Regions from separate parts of the Homo sapiens genome. Here regions 2 and 3 are each linked to region 1. The links are contacts of gene promoters, found by promoter capture Hi-C in human tissues and cell types (Jung and others, 2019). All regions are on one chromosome and are shown on one strand. The core of a region is centred on a gene start or on the middle of the fragment in contact, and the rest is flanking DNA. Distances in the headings are between cores, read along the strand shown. Region 1 holds the start of FAT4 (FAT atypical cadherin 4). Region 2 has its middle 250 kb from the start of LINC02379. Region 3 has its middle 140 kb from the start of MIR2054.

Region 1 (5,030 bases), core at 1,787-4,286:
AAAACATAATTTCATACATTTAATTAAATAATGATGGCAAATGTGTATAGATCATAACAAATTGTTACAGAGCTATTTGTTTTAACGTATGTTCTAAGGTTCAAATGAGGTATTCTCTGGTTTCTTTCATATTTGGACATAAAAATATGTCCCCCACAGTCTATTAACATCGGGGAATATCTTCCTCTTCAGAACTTTATTAAAAGCTTTGACTAAACAACACTTCTCACACAAGCCTTTGGTAGAAAAGCACAGATAAACTTAACTTTTTTTTTTTGAAAGGCAATTAATTAAAGAAAATGTACAATGAGAAATGATTCTTACACTAACTGTTTATTAATGTGTTCCATTATAATATCTACCTAGTAATGTATTCCATGGCTTTTTTGCATATTTCATGCATACAATGATCTCTATATGTCTTTACTTTCTTTCATTTACTTTTGGAGAGGGATCCATATTATTTATCATGCATGATTTACTTTTTGGGAGGGCATCCATTTTTTAACATGCATGATATTACAGGTTGAAATGCAAAAGAGAAAAGTAACAACAAAATACCTTTGTCTTTTATTAAAACCATGCTCTATATCTTACCTTAAATTGTGTACCTATCTATACATAGATTGTAAATTCATGTATAGGTTTTATCTATAAATGAATATGTTACTTTAAAGTAGTCATCATGCGAAAAGTTTCTACTTGTTAAAATAACCACACTATTGGCTAAATAATTTTCGATAATCCTCTTTTGAAATTGTCCAAAAAATTTTTATGTACTCTATCTCTCTATATATTTTCTGTATTAGTTTATTTTGCCATATCTTGTTTTGTAAAACTAAAATGTATACATATTGCACTGATTGAATACTTTCCATTTCACAGAATGAATGATCTTCACCTGTTTCCCAAATTAAATTCACTCATATATAATGCAAATGTAATACTATTGACACTAAATCTGAAGATTATCCCACAGGCAAAAAAAAACAAGCAAACCAACAAAAGTCCATGATCTCCTACAACAAGTATCTGAATGATTTCTTTCTGTTTATTTCTCTATAAATACTTGAATAATAGTGCATTAGGAAACAAAATAAAACAAAACAGTAATATTCTCTTAAAATCACACAGACATGATTTGTAAAAATTTGTAAAAATTTGTTTGCCACTTTAGTTAATCTACAAATATTTTTTGGCTAAATTATACCAAAAATAATGGTGTTAGGATTGTAACTTAAGAAAAATACGATTTTTGAAAAACAGGCTTAAATGTCTCTAAAAAGTCTAGAGTCTAATGTTTTCAAGTTTTAAAATACATAAATGGTTAAATTTAACTTTTTTGTCTGTTTCCAGTTAACTCATTACATTACAGTAGAGGAATATGTAGAAGTTAGCTTTTTAACCTAAACAGAGGAATTGGTGATAGCTTTAGAAATCATGTTTCCATAAATCAGTTTTGAGTTACAGGCTGCCTGCATCATCAAGACTTGAATTTGCTGTCTGTCCTACTATTCTTGATTTTTTTTTTTTTACTCTAAATAAGAAAGGCACTAGGAAAGTCTTAGAGATCGTTTTCTTTGCTGCTATCCCTAGGCAAGAAGCAGGAATTAGCCTTGTAATCCGATCCTTTTAGTCTCTGCATTTAATTTTAAGCAAGAAACCAGGAGACTAAAGATGTAAGACTGACGTAGAACAGCAGAGGGCAGTATTTACTCATGACTGAACCCTCTCTGGGCGCAGAAAGTTTTACGTTTGTGAGGGATCCTTGTGGCAGAAATGTATGACATATGCCCTGTATTTGCATTGTTTGGCTTGAATTCTTATTTTCTAGGTTGGTTCCCTTAAAGGGGAAAAATATCGATCTGATTCCTAGTAACGTTTTTCTTCTTTTAAAGAAACGATGCATGCCACCACAAAAATTAACTGCAGTGAATAGTGGGTGAGTTGATCTGAGTGCATTAAGTGGCATGTGGGTATTTTTAAAAACTTAAGCTTAAATATTATTTTATTTATTTCTACTTTCTCGTATCTATTTCTCCCAGACTGAAAAGCAAAATAAAACTTTATTAGGTTTCCTTTGACTAAAAAATGTGGAGGTGGAAATACTCCATCAGGGATCAAAATTCCAAACTAACTTTGCAACAGGAAAAGATCTCCCTCTTTTCAAAGGGCTGCCATTATTATTGTTGTTGAAACCCTAAGGTTTGGGCTACTGGCACCTGGAATCCAGTTGGGAAAGAAAACAAAACAAACACTGAGTTCCCCTGGCCTTTCCTATAGTAGGAAGTCCAAAGTGCCCTTGCTACGGAGGCCTCCTGCCCCCTAGTCACCTGGAAGGTGGGGGAGAGGGGCAAGTGAGTGAAGATTTAGAGTTTAGCTCGCCCTAGACAGCAGGGAGCCCACTGTGTAGAAAGAGGAGCAAAGGGGAGGATTTGATTTGGATTCTGTGGGATCACACTGTATGGCAGCTCTATCCCTTGCATAAAGAGAGAAGGGGCAGGAAATGGTTAAAGCAAATCTGCACTGTGCATTCCCAGACAGGCTTTGCTTAATCCTTCCTCCCCGCTTTAACAGACCCTCACCCCCCGCCTTTCTTTTATTTCTCTCGACCCCCTTACCCCTGAGTTATTACTAGCATAACAACCTAACGGTCTTCCCCCAGACCCTGCCACTAAAGTTATTTATCTGCAAACCTGACCCCACCCCCATCTATTCTGCGGCAGCCTTTTGCTGTTATTGCTCTGACGCCGGCCAAGATTTGGCCGAAAAGGAAAAAAAAAAAAAAAAAAGAAAAGAAAAAAAATCACCCCCCTTTTTAGCGCCTCCGCCTCGCTGTGCTCCCACACCAGACCGCCTACAGCCCTCCGGGAGGCTGAAGTGATTAGCATCCCGAGAAGCCAGTCGGAGGCCGGGCAAGGCGGAGGGCGCTCGCGGTAGGAGTGCCGGTCGGGGCTGCTTCAGCTCCGGCCCAATGGGGCTGGGGCGAGGGAGGGGCAGAAGGTGACAGGACTGGGAGCTAGGGGGAGTCCAGGCGAACTAAAGTGCGGGGATCAATGAGTGTCGAGCAAAGTTTCTGAGTGCTGCTCCAGCTCGCGGTCTTCCCTCCCCCTCTGTTTGTGTTTCGGCGACGCGCTGTGTGTGTGTGTGTGCGTGTGTATGTGTGTGTGTGTGCATGCCTGTGCGGCGGGGAAGGGGCGGGGAGAGTGTGAGGGACCAGGCGGGAGGTGGAGAAGGGCTCGCGGAGCCCTAGCTCCACCGCAGTCCAACCTTCGGCCCCGGCCGGCGAGAGGGAGAGCGCTGACAGGCGCCGTCCGGAGCTGCGGAGGGCGTCACTACAGCCCAGCGCCGACTTCGCCGCCTCCGCTGCCAACTGTGAAGGAGAGAGAGGCATCAACCACCCCCCGCCCCAAACAAAAAGCCTTGTGGATTACAAAGTGAAACTGACACGGGACAATAAAAGCAGAGATAGCGAGGGCAGGGGCGAGGCGCGCTAGAGTGGGCTTCTGACTGGGGCCGCCGGAGAACGACCCCCCCTGGCATGGTGAGGGGAGGGCGACTCGGGGACCGCACGCTGTTTCTGCCCGACCCCTGCGAGGCCGAGAAGAAAGGGGAAACTGCGTTCGATTTGGATGTACAAATAATGGGTCGGCAGGCGCCCCGGCAGAGGTGAAAAATGCCGAGGAGCCCTGGCTGTTGTTTGTGCCGGACCACGGGCTTGAAGCCGCAACAGGGGCGGCGGCGGCGGCGGCTGCAGGAGGGGAAGGGGCAGAGTTGAGCGCTCCCGGGTACGGGAGCCAGAGCGCGAACGCTAGCGCTTGGAACGCAGTTCCCGAACTGCCTGCGCGCAGACGCCGCCGCCTGGGCCTCAGCGGCCACTGCCGGCGCCCTGTTGGAGGGGCGTTGCAGCCTGGTTTTTGAGGAGTGGGGACTCCAGGAATTCCATCGCCTCCAGCTTTTGGGAAAGAAATTCGATTCTCCCGGTTCCCCACCACCCCTTCCCCGGTGCGCAGTTGTGCTTGGACGTTTGTTCCTCCCTCTTCACGTTCTTCGCTGCGGGTAAGTTCTAAAGTTTCTGAAGACCGTTCTTTGCAATGATTCCTCATATACCTTAGATACAGGCAACTTCTCCCAACTCTCATCCACCCGGGTGAAAACGCTCAGACTATCTGGATTCAAAAACAAAGTAAAAGGGGGCATATATAAGAGGCTTGAGAAACTTTTCTGGGAACTCAGCTCACAGGAGTGTCCCGCGGAATGCCCTGCCGCTTTTCGCCACAGCATCTCTCTTGCACTCCGCGTTCAACTGGCTACCTAGAGTCTTTTGCTGATGCTACTTGCTTTTGCCGGACTGGAGGTTCTTTGAAATAGCAGAGGTCTCAGACCAAGCCGTCAGCTGAATCTTTGCTGGCGCTCCTTAATCCCTGTAAATATCATTGCGTTTGCTTCACCCCTTCCTTCTCTTTATCACATCGTTTTAGGGAGCCAGGACCATGGACTTAGCACCAGACAGGGCTACTGGCCGCCCGTGGCTCCCGTTGCACACTCTATCAGTATCTCAGCTCCTTCGAGTGTTTTGGCTACTGTCATTGCTTCCGGGGCAGGCCTGGGTCCACGGGGCCGAGCCGCGCCAGGTGTTCCAAGTGCTGGAAGAGCAACCTCCAGGCACTCTGGTAGGCACCATCCAGACGCGCCCCGGCTTCACCTACAGGCTCAGCGAAAGCCACGCCCTGTTTGCCATAAACAGTAGCACCGGAGCCCTGTACACCACCTCCACCATCGACCGCGAGAGCCTGCCCAGCGACGTGATCAACCTGGTGGTCCTTTCCAGCGCGCCCACCTACCCCACCGAAGTGCGAGTGCTGGTGCGGGACCTCAATGACAACGCCCCCGTTTTCCCGGACCCCTCTATCGTGGTCACTTTCAAGGAAGACAGTAGCAGCGGACGCCAAGTCATCTTAGACACCGCCACCGACTCGGACATCGGCTCAAACGGTGTGGACCACCGCTCCTACCGCATCATCCGCGGC
Region 2 (5,030 bases), core at 901-3,400, 500 kb after region 1:
CAAGAAACATCCTTACAGACACAGCCATCGTAATGTTTAACCAGATATCTGGGAACCCCAAAATTCCATTCAGGTTGGCAAATAAAATTAACCATAACAAATAGAGACATGATCAGACATATTTTAAAAGGATTACTCAAACTATTATGTAAAGAATAGAATAGGCCGGGCGCGGTGGCTCACGCCTGTAATCCCAGCACTTTGGGAGGCGGAGGCGGGCGGATCACGAGGTCAGGAGATCGAGACCATCCTGGCTAACACGGTGAAACCCCGTCTCTACTAAAAATACAAAAAAAAAAGCCGGGCGTGGTGGCGGGCGCCTGTAGTCCCAGCTACTTGGGAGGCTGAGGCAGGAGAATGGCGTGAACCCGGGAGGCGGAGTTTGCAGTGAGCTGAGATCGCGCCACTGCCCTCCAGCCTGGGCGACAGAGCGAGACTCTGTCTCAAAAAAAAAAAAAAAAAAAAAAGTAGAATAGACTGCAGGTGGTTAAGGATAGACGAATGTTATATCTTTAGAGTTAAATTTTGTTGTGAAATCTTTTTAAAAATCTTATGTACCATCTTTTTACCTTACTTATTATTAGTATCTTATCTCATTTTCTTAAATGTGTGTTTTCATAAAACTGTATATTGAAAAGAGAAAAAATTTAAGTTTCTATTTTATTTTCACTTTTAACAAAGCTTCAGTTTCATGGTAACTCCTGTTAATCTCATGAGATTTGCTTTTGCTATATCTGAAACTTTCTGTAGGTTATTTTGGTAAACATACACTAACATGAATTCTTAGGCTCCATTGCAATTAAAATATGTCTTGTTTGATTCTTTGACTTAAAATATTTCTTGTTTGATTCATTTGGCTTTTAATAAATTATTCACACATCATTACAGTTAAATTGTAAACCCTTAAAAAACTAATCTTAAGCAGAGGTAAAAAATACATGTAACTAAGTCAGTTAACAATATTGTGATTTATTCATTTATTTGTATCAGACAAATATTTATTAGGCACTAACTTTGTGACAGAAGCTTTACTATTCACTAATGTGAAGTGATTAATAACTAATTTACTTTTCCTCATACATGCATAGGAAAAGAGAGAGGCAAGAACAAATAAGCAAGTAATCAACAATAAATAAATAAATAAATAAATAAATAAATAAAAACTATAAAAAGATGTAAAAAGAAATAGATAGACTACTAAGATAGAAATAAAAGGAGACCAAACTTAGATGATAAAAGAAGGATTTTCTACAGAAGTGATGTTTAAGCTGAGACCCAAGAATAAGAAACCGCCAAGCTTGCAAGAATGGAAAGAAATCTATTATAGACAGTAGGGACAATACAAATAAAGCCCCCAAGGTAAGAATGACTTTGATGAATTTGAGGAACTTAAATGCCAGTGTTGCCTGAGCATAACCGTTAAGGGCTAGATTGGAGGACTGCAGTTGCAGTGTACAAATAATATCTGTGGTTTCTAATGCTCAGGACATGTTTAAACCATTCCAGTAAATTTGGTGGAAAAAAACACAATATTTAGATAAACATTTTTAAGAAGATTTAAAATAAGCACTCTGCCTAGTTTAAATAAAATATATGAATTATTTGATTATATTAATCAAATTGGATGTTTAATTTTTTTCTGTAGGCACGATATAAGGAATCGCAGGAACAAAGCTTTTCATTTGCTACATCATCTTAATTTACATGCTTCATAGCAGGAAATCCGTTTCTCTGTGTGTGTGTTTGATCTTGCCATTTTATTTCATCTTACCAAATTCTTTATAAAGGGCTATCAAATATAAACCTTGGGAAATATATATATAAAATCTATTTCCATTTTTATCCTGTTACTGAGGTCTTTTATATTGAAAAAAAATCCCTAAGGTTGGTCTCATTTTGTATGCAGCTTGAAGATACAGTTTAATGTCTGCAGAGATACATTTATTTATTTTAACTTTGATCATAGTTGAAAACCTAATAGTGTGTTTTAGGCATATTTTCCCCTTAGGTTGTAAAATATTCTTTTTAAAATTTTGACCCAAAAGAATCTAATTTTAATGCTGTATATATAAATGTATATTTCTCCAATAAAAACGAATTGGAAATCCTTTTATCACATAAAAATATAACCAAGAGGGATTTATGCTTGTTGTAGTGTACAAGCTAAGGAATATAAATTGTTAGCCACATTATAAAGAATTTTAACAATGACTATAAGAATCTATGCATTTAAAACAGTAATTTATTTTAAAGTATTAATTTTTTCTAGCAATCTCATTTTCTGCATTTTAACATAAAAACATGGATAAGTTGACCTGTTATGTCTGAATGTCACATTTTAATGTAACAGAAATTACAAATTCAGGTTCAGATGTGCATAAATCAAATTTTCGTAATCAAATATCAGAATATCCCATTGAGTAAAAATACACTGTTACTTCTCATTTTTAATGGGAAAACCTAATGAACAATTAGGTTAAACTATTCAGAAACTAACATGGATGCATTTAATAGTTCTTTCATTGTCAGTTGACTGAAATAATTTGGCATGTGAAATATATTATGAGATTTTAAAAATACATTTTCTTTGTTAACTCATGTATACCACTATGTGTCAAACTCTGCTAGGACCAATCCCAGCTGTCACAAAACCAACACTAACTGGGTAAGTGTAAGGTATTCAGACAGGTCAGAATAATGGCAGCACTTAACACAGTGTACTGCTTGAAAAGGAATTAGTATCTACTCTGGTAATTCAATCAGTGGTGCATCAAAATTACCTAGAGAACACTTCAAAAATTCAAAAGCCCTATCTCAAATTGAAACAAAATGGGGGATGGTTTCTGCTGTAAATCAGGGAGTGATGTGATCAAATATACAAATAAGGGAGGTAATTCAAGCATCAGAATATAAAATAGATGAGGTGATACAGGAAGTAACTATACCATTGCAGTAGATGCTTCAGTCATTTGGCTGAGAATCATGGTGCATGAGAGTAGAAAAGGAAGAGAGGAACTTAATTATGTAGAGGAAAACAATTGTTTAAGAATCTGGAACAAATATGTGCTGAAATTGATATATGCTGTGCAATATGTTAGCCAGTAGCCGTGTATATTTATTGAACTCTTGAGATGTAGCTGGCTTAAGTTGAGATGTGTGTTATATGTAAAATATACTTTAGATTTTTGAAGACCTGCTAAGAATAAAAAAGAATGTCAAATATCTTATGAATAGTATTACATTGATTCACATTTTAAAATGACAATAATGTGGACATGTTGGAAAAATACAGTATTAATTTCCTTTTCACTTTTTAAAATGAGACTAATAAGAATTTGAAATTACACATGTGACTCTCACTTTGACTAGTATTATATATGTATCTACTGAACAACACTACCTTTGATAATTATCTAAACTTCATAATTTTAAATGTCACTTAATCTTTCTAAGATTCTGTTTCACTTCAGCAGAATGTAAATAACTACATTTTCTAAAAATTCCACAGGCTTATTTGGAAGAACAATTAAAACAATATATTAAAAACTGCATAAATAACAAAACATTATATAAATTACTTCAAAAGACATTAAGTGAATAAAATGCAAAATTTACCCTAGGTTTCTTTGAAAATAACTTATATGTAAATGTAACTTTCACGATGTGACAGCTATTTGATGGCTACAAATAAGCACAGACTATGACCCTATTTAGGAAGGGCAAATATTTCATTCTTGTAAATGCCTAGAGAAATATAAGACGTATCTAATGATAACATGTAATTACCACCTAATAACCTTCAAAACATCCAAATGGTCTCTATAACGTGCAATAATTTTTCTATATACCTAGAATTACCCCCTCCAAGTTTCATTACGCCCGAACTCCAGCATTCTAAACATTGAAGTTGTTGAATAAACAAATGTTTGTCCTATTTATACATTACAGTAATTCATTAATTCTTATCACTTTCTTTTTCAGTTTTTTAATTTTGCTTCTAGTCTCAGTTTTAAACTAATGATAATATATAGATAAATATATTTCTTGCAAACTCATTCTTTTAAATACTGTGAAAGATAATTTTTACAGCCTGAACTGAGCCAGTGGTAATTTTTAAAGTCATCTTCAGTTGAAAGTACCTGTTTTCACCTTTCACAATTGGCAGGGGTTTTGTTATTATATACAACACTCATAACTTGCTTGAGAGAATCGCTAAAGTGACTTTTCCCAAAAATAAATGAACATTTTCTTTTGGTTTTGTTTTCAAAATTAGTCAAAGTGGGAGTTGATCTCCCTTTAAATTGCAATAAAACATCAAAGACTTCAAGCCTTGCATACAGTGTTCATGACATAAAGGGAACATTAAACACTCAGTCTAATGTAAAATAATTATAAATCAGTTGGCAAATGTAACCACACATACTACTTCTTTTATGTATTTACACTATTAATTTGGATAAGAAGACTAAGATCATTTAATAATTTTTCTTGATATGTGAAATATGATATATTTAATGTTTCATTATAAATAGGATTATATGTTTTGTTCCCTATAGGAAATTTTTTAAGCCAGAAAACGTATTATTAATGCATAATAGCAGTAATAATTATTATTATAATTATAAAAACTCAGGAAACTCAGACAAGCACAGTTCCTATTGAATTCATGATCTTTATAAAAAATAATTTTCTTGTGAACAGCTTATGTTTCCTTAAAACACATAATAAATTTTTTATAAATAATTTTTACCTACATCTTAGAGAATCCTTTTCTCCAAACCATTCCATTTTCTTCCTAATACCCTCTTCCAAACGCCACCAAGGATGGCAAATGACCATGTTTCAGTTCTGCAGTTTGTAGAGGAAAGCTCAATGTAGTCACCCTTATTCCCTGAATAAAATTAGATGGTTTGGTTATGTTGCTTTTACAAAGAAGGTAATGATGAAGTGTAAAAAGTCATGTGTAATGTGATGTAGAAAAGTAGCAGAGGCCAGAAACACAGGATCTTGGTTACTATTCAATACCTGGT
Region 3 (5,030 bases), core at 1,288-3,787, 340 kb after region 1:
TTCATTTCCCCTGCATTATCTCCCACTACTCCTTATGTATTTTTTTCTTACCATTTACCAAAATCACTGCCAACATTTGGATGTGTTTTCTTTCATGGTTATTGTTTTACTGAAAATACAATTTTTCAGGAAATGTTGGTATTTTATATTTATTCTGAAAAGTATTTGAAAAATGAGATTACTCTATCAAAAGAATTAGACTTTAAAATAAGAATACATATTTTCTTAGTCCATTGTATAAATTTGAAAAATATGCAATATAGTAAAATATAAAAATTCGTTTGCAATGTATTTTTATCAGCTGATCTCCTGCAAGAGAACTTCCTTGACTTCTCCACCTAAAATAAGTCCTTTTCCCTGTATTATCTCTCACTTCTCCTTGTTTCCTTCTTATATTTACCAAAATTACTGCCAACATTTGGGTTTTGATAAAAGGAAAACTTCCGCCGAATTAAATTTAAAGGAGTTTAATTGAGCAATGAATGATTCGTGAATGGGACAGCCCCCAGAATCACAGCAGATTCACAGAGGCTCCCGCACAGCCACGTGGTGGAAGAAGATTTATAGACAAAAAAGGGAAAATGATGTACAGAAGTCTACAATCAGTTACAGAAACAGCTAGATTGGTTACAGGTTGGCGTTTGCCTCATTTGAACACAGGTTGAACACTTAGCTATGAATGGTTGAAGTACGGCCGCTGGGATTGGCCAAACCTCAGTTATTGTTACAGGCTTATACTGCTAAGTTAGGTTTTCGATGTCGTCTGACTATTTAAGCTAGGTTAGTTCATCCAGAAGGACTCAAATATAGAAGTACAGAGTCCTTCTCAGGCCGTATTTACTTTAATAGTGTATTGCCTTTAATGCTTATTGTTCTACTTCAGATACAATTTATTTTTAGGAAACTTTGATATTTTATATTTATTCTAAAAACTATTCTTTTCATTTGGGTTGTCAAATTAACCAGCATATATGAATATATCTAATTTTACCAGGTCCTCTACCTTACTGTTTTAATCAAATTTCTGTGTTTTTCTACTTTTTTTTTTTTTTTGAGATGATTTTGCTTTAGTACAAGATAGTTTTCCTAAATGGTTCATTGTTGCTTTGGACAGAATTATTCTTTTTCTTCAAAAACATTTAAAATTCATTAGTTCACTTTCAATTTTGTATTTTTCTTATATATAAGTTTATGTCTGACAATGTATGTAAATTCTGGGTTTGTAGCCTTCAAGGTTGATATTGTTGCATAGTTTACTAGCAATTCATCTTTATTTCACCTCTTTTCCTTTTCAGTTGCTCTGTGTAATATAAATTTTGGATTGATTCTCTCCCCCCGCCTTTTTTTTTTTTTTTCTGAGATGTAGTCTCGCTTTGTCACCCAGGCTGGAGCACAGTGGCACGATCTCAGCTCACTGCAACCTCCACCTCCCAGGTTCAAGAGAGTCCCCTGCCTCAGCCTCCTGAGTAACTGGGACTACAGGCGCATGCTACCAAGCCCAGCTAATTTTTTGTAGTTTTAGTAGAAACAGGGTTTTACCGTATTAGCCAGGATGGTCTCCATCTCCTGCCCACCTCGTGATCTGCCCACCTCGGCCTCCCAAAGTGCTGGGATTACAGGCGTGAGCCACCACGCCCCTCTCCCTTTTTCAAAAAAGAAGTCCACGTTACTCACAATGCTTAGAGGTTTCAATATTTTCTTCTGTTGCCTGAAGCAGATTATTTTCAGTCTGGTTCTTTGAATATTCAAAATGATATTTCCTATTTCCCTGTTTATTAGCTTTCAATATTTATTCACTCAGTTAATTATTATTTTTCTGTTACTCATGCATGAACAAAGATATTCATTTAGACTCTGTTTATTTGTTAAGAACTATGTTGGTGGATTGTTTAGTCCTTACTCACTCCCCTGGCTTAAGTCAAACCCTCTTCTCACATATACACTGGGCAAAATTAGCATGTAATCAGATTTTCAATGCTACAATCTATTACTGCTTGATAAAAGCTGACTTCTTCATTCTCCAATTCCTAGGTGCCTGAAAAACAAGACTAGCTAAAGCTTCTGGAAAAATAGAATTAGACCTGGTGTCTTTCAGCACCTGTACTTGTGTGTCCGGAATTGGTGGGTTCTTGGTCTCCCTGACTTCCAGGCGGTATGTCCGCCTCAAGGTTCTTAAAGGCGGTATGTCAGGAGTTTGTTCCTTATGATGTTCGGATGTGTTGGCAGTTTTTTCCTTCTGGTGGGTTTCGCGGTCTCCGCCGGCTCAGGAACAAAGCTGCGGACCTTCACGGTTAGTGTTAGGGCTCTTAAGGCGGCACGTCTGGAGTTGTTCATTCCTCCCGGTGGGTTCGTGGTCTCTCTGGCTTCAAGAGCGAAGCTACAGACCTTCACGGTGAGTGTTACAGCTCATAAAGGCAGCGTGGACCCAAAGAGTGAGCAGCAGCAAGATTTATTGCAAAGAGAAAAAGTACAAAGCTTCCACAGCATGGAAAGGTACCCGAGGGGGTTGACACTGCTGGCTCGTGCAGCCTGCTTTTATTCTGTTATCTGGCCCCACCCACATCCTGCTGATTGGTAGAGCCCAGTTGTCTGTTTTGACAGGGCGCTGATTGGTGCCTTTACAATCCCTGAGCTAAACACAAAGGTTCTCCAAGTCCCCACCAGATTAGCTAGATACAGAGTGTCGATTGGTGCATTCACAAACCCTGAGCTAGACACAGGGTGCCAATTGGTGTGTTTACAAACTTTGAGCTAGATACAGAGTGCCAATTGGTGCATTTATAATCCCTGAGCTAGACATAAATGTTCTCCACGTCCCCACCAGGCTCAGGAGCCTAGCTGGCTTCACCCAGTGGATCCCACACCGGGGGTGCAGGTGGAGCTGCCTGCCAGTCCCTTGCAGTGCGCCCACACTCCTCAGCCCTTGGGTGGTTGATGGGACTGGGCGCCGTGGAGCAGGAGGCAGTGCTTGTCGGGGAGGCTCAAGGCCACACAGGAGCCCATGGAGGTGGGGGAGGCTCAGGCATGGCGGGCTGCAGGTCCCGAGCCCGAGCCCTGCACCGAAGGAAGGCAGCTAAGGCCCCCCAGGGAGAAATTGAGCACAGCAGCTGCTGGCCCAGGTGCTAAGCCCCTCACTGCCCAGGGCCAGCGGAGCCGGCTGGCCACTCCGAGTGCTGGGCCTGCCGAGCCCACGCCCACCGGGAACTCGCGCTGGCCCGCAAGCGCCCCGTGCAGCCCCGGTTCCCGTCGGCGCTTCTCCCTCCACACGTCCCTGCAAGCTGAGGGAGCCAGCTCCGGCCTTGGCCAGCCCAGAAAGGGGCTCCCACAGTGCAGTGGCGGGCTGAAGGGCTCCTCAAGTGCCGCCCAAGTGGGAGGCCAGGCAGAGGAGGTGCCGAGAGCGAGCGAAGGCTGTGAGGACTGCCAGCACGCTGTCACCTCTCACTTGCTTTAAGATTGCCATACTTTAGATGTTCTTCTATGAACGGTCCTGTCTCCATCTCCCTATTCCTTGTGAGCTTTTTCTGGACGTGGTAGTTTGTCTACATGTAGGGAAAGACGCACTTTTACAATTTGAACAGAGTATTTAAGAGCACCCATAAAATAATTTAGTTACATAATTTGTAGTTTTCTGTAGCTCTTGCGTTTCTAAATTAGAGAGAGGCCAGTTGAGAAAGAGGCAACTTCTCCCTACACATTTCATACGGACTTGTGCTGTTTCTTTTAGTATAGCATAAGGTAACAATAATCAGTTGAAATTTATTGAAATTATTTTTATTCATTTTTATCAGCCGTACCATTAGTCTGATTTTCTTCAAGATTATGAAAACTGATTGACTGTTGGTCCTAATTTTCAACGTCTGTGTGTGTGTGTGTGTGTTTGTGTGTATATCTCTGTGTGTTTTTCTTTTTTTATCCTGTCTTGGTAATTGTTTTGGTAGGAATTTAGAAAAGGGAGCCAGTGGATGCTGGCCAGATGCCATATTAAACTTAAATTTGCAGGCACTAGGTTTTAAAGTCTAGAGTAACCATTGCCAAATTCCTTTCACAAATATTCTCCCTGCAATACAACTCAACCAGTGATATGTTAATGTGGCTGATATTACCATCTTTTGGTTTTACTAATTTTATCTGTGAAATAGTAATTTAGTTTTGAGTTTTTCATACATGTGTGTCTAGACTAGTGGGATTAGACATTGTACAATATTAAATCGATTTTGTTTGTTTTTATTATATGTTAAGGCATAGAAACTGATGATATAAAAAGACACAGTTCTTAATAGTTTCTTAGAGGAAATATGATCAGACATCTCTCAAAGTTGTCTATAATGTGTTGTATGAATTCCATAAATAAGGTACAAGTAGAGATCAGAGGACATTGGAAAACATTTATGTCTGGGCTCTTAGAGAAGACTTCATAAAAGCATATTATCAGAACAAGGCACTGCAAAAGTGATAGGATTATAAAATGGATTGTGAGAGGCATTTCAAGGGAAAAAACTGCTGTGAGCAAATTTTCAGAGTTGAGATAATGCAAGTCATTCCACTTCTGGATACTGGGTTGTGTAAAAGAAATAAGGGAGATGTTCAGAAAATGTGAACAACAATGTTTTGTGACTAGATAATTGTATTGGATAAATAGTTGTAGATAAACTTGTAAATACAGAACTGGATAGATTTTGGATGATATTAAATTTGGACTTTTTTTATGGACATATGCCATGTAAAGTGTTCAACTAAGCTATGTAACCAAAGATAAAAAAGTATAATTCTAGAATGAGGGTAAAGGGCCAGCTAACTAGGGATCAAATGGAAGTAAAGGGACCATTCAAAGGATATTTCATGATCAAGGTATTATGTTAAAAAATAAAGCAACTAAATTAATAAAATAGCTGAAGTGGAAAGAAAAAATTAAGTGCAGGAAGTATTTTTAAGCAAGAAGCAACAAGACATTGTACATAATTGGATGTGGGGAAAAATACAGGGGGCTATAGGCTTCAAACCTAGATATGTGGAAGTGCAGTGGTGCAATT

Evidence for each region. Contacts are between HindIII fragments. The study calls those that stand out against the background at their distance.
Region 2: a fragment that was not itself captured here is called in contact with the fragment with the promoter of FAT4 in region 1 in 1 of the 25 tissues and cell types used here (H1 embryonic stem cells).
Region 3: a fragment that was not itself captured here is called in contact with the fragment with the promoter of FAT4 in region 1 in 1 of the 25 tissues and cell types used here (mesendoderm cells).

The regions. Positions count from the first base shown.
Region 1 is chr4:125,311,919-125,316,948 of GRCh38, forward strand. FAT4 (FAT atypical cadherin 4) reads left to right here and starts at 3,037. Exons shown (of 18, transcript NM_001291303.3): 1 at 3,037-4,059; 2 at 4,482-5,030. The coding sequence starts at 4,494. The HindIII fragment of the contact is 10,793 bases long and covers 1,101-5,030 here.
Region 2 is chr4:125,815,375-125,820,404 of GRCh38, forward strand. No RefSeq gene overlaps it. Among named protein-coding and RNA genes, the nearest start is that of LINC02379, 250 kb to the right of the region's middle. The HindIII fragment of the contact is 4,423 bases long and covers 1-4,362 here.
Region 3 is chr4:125,648,853-125,653,882 of GRCh38, forward strand. No RefSeq gene overlaps it. Among named protein-coding and RNA genes, the nearest start is that of MIR2054, 140 kb to the left of the region's middle. The HindIII fragment of the contact is 5,175 bases long and covers 1-5,030 here.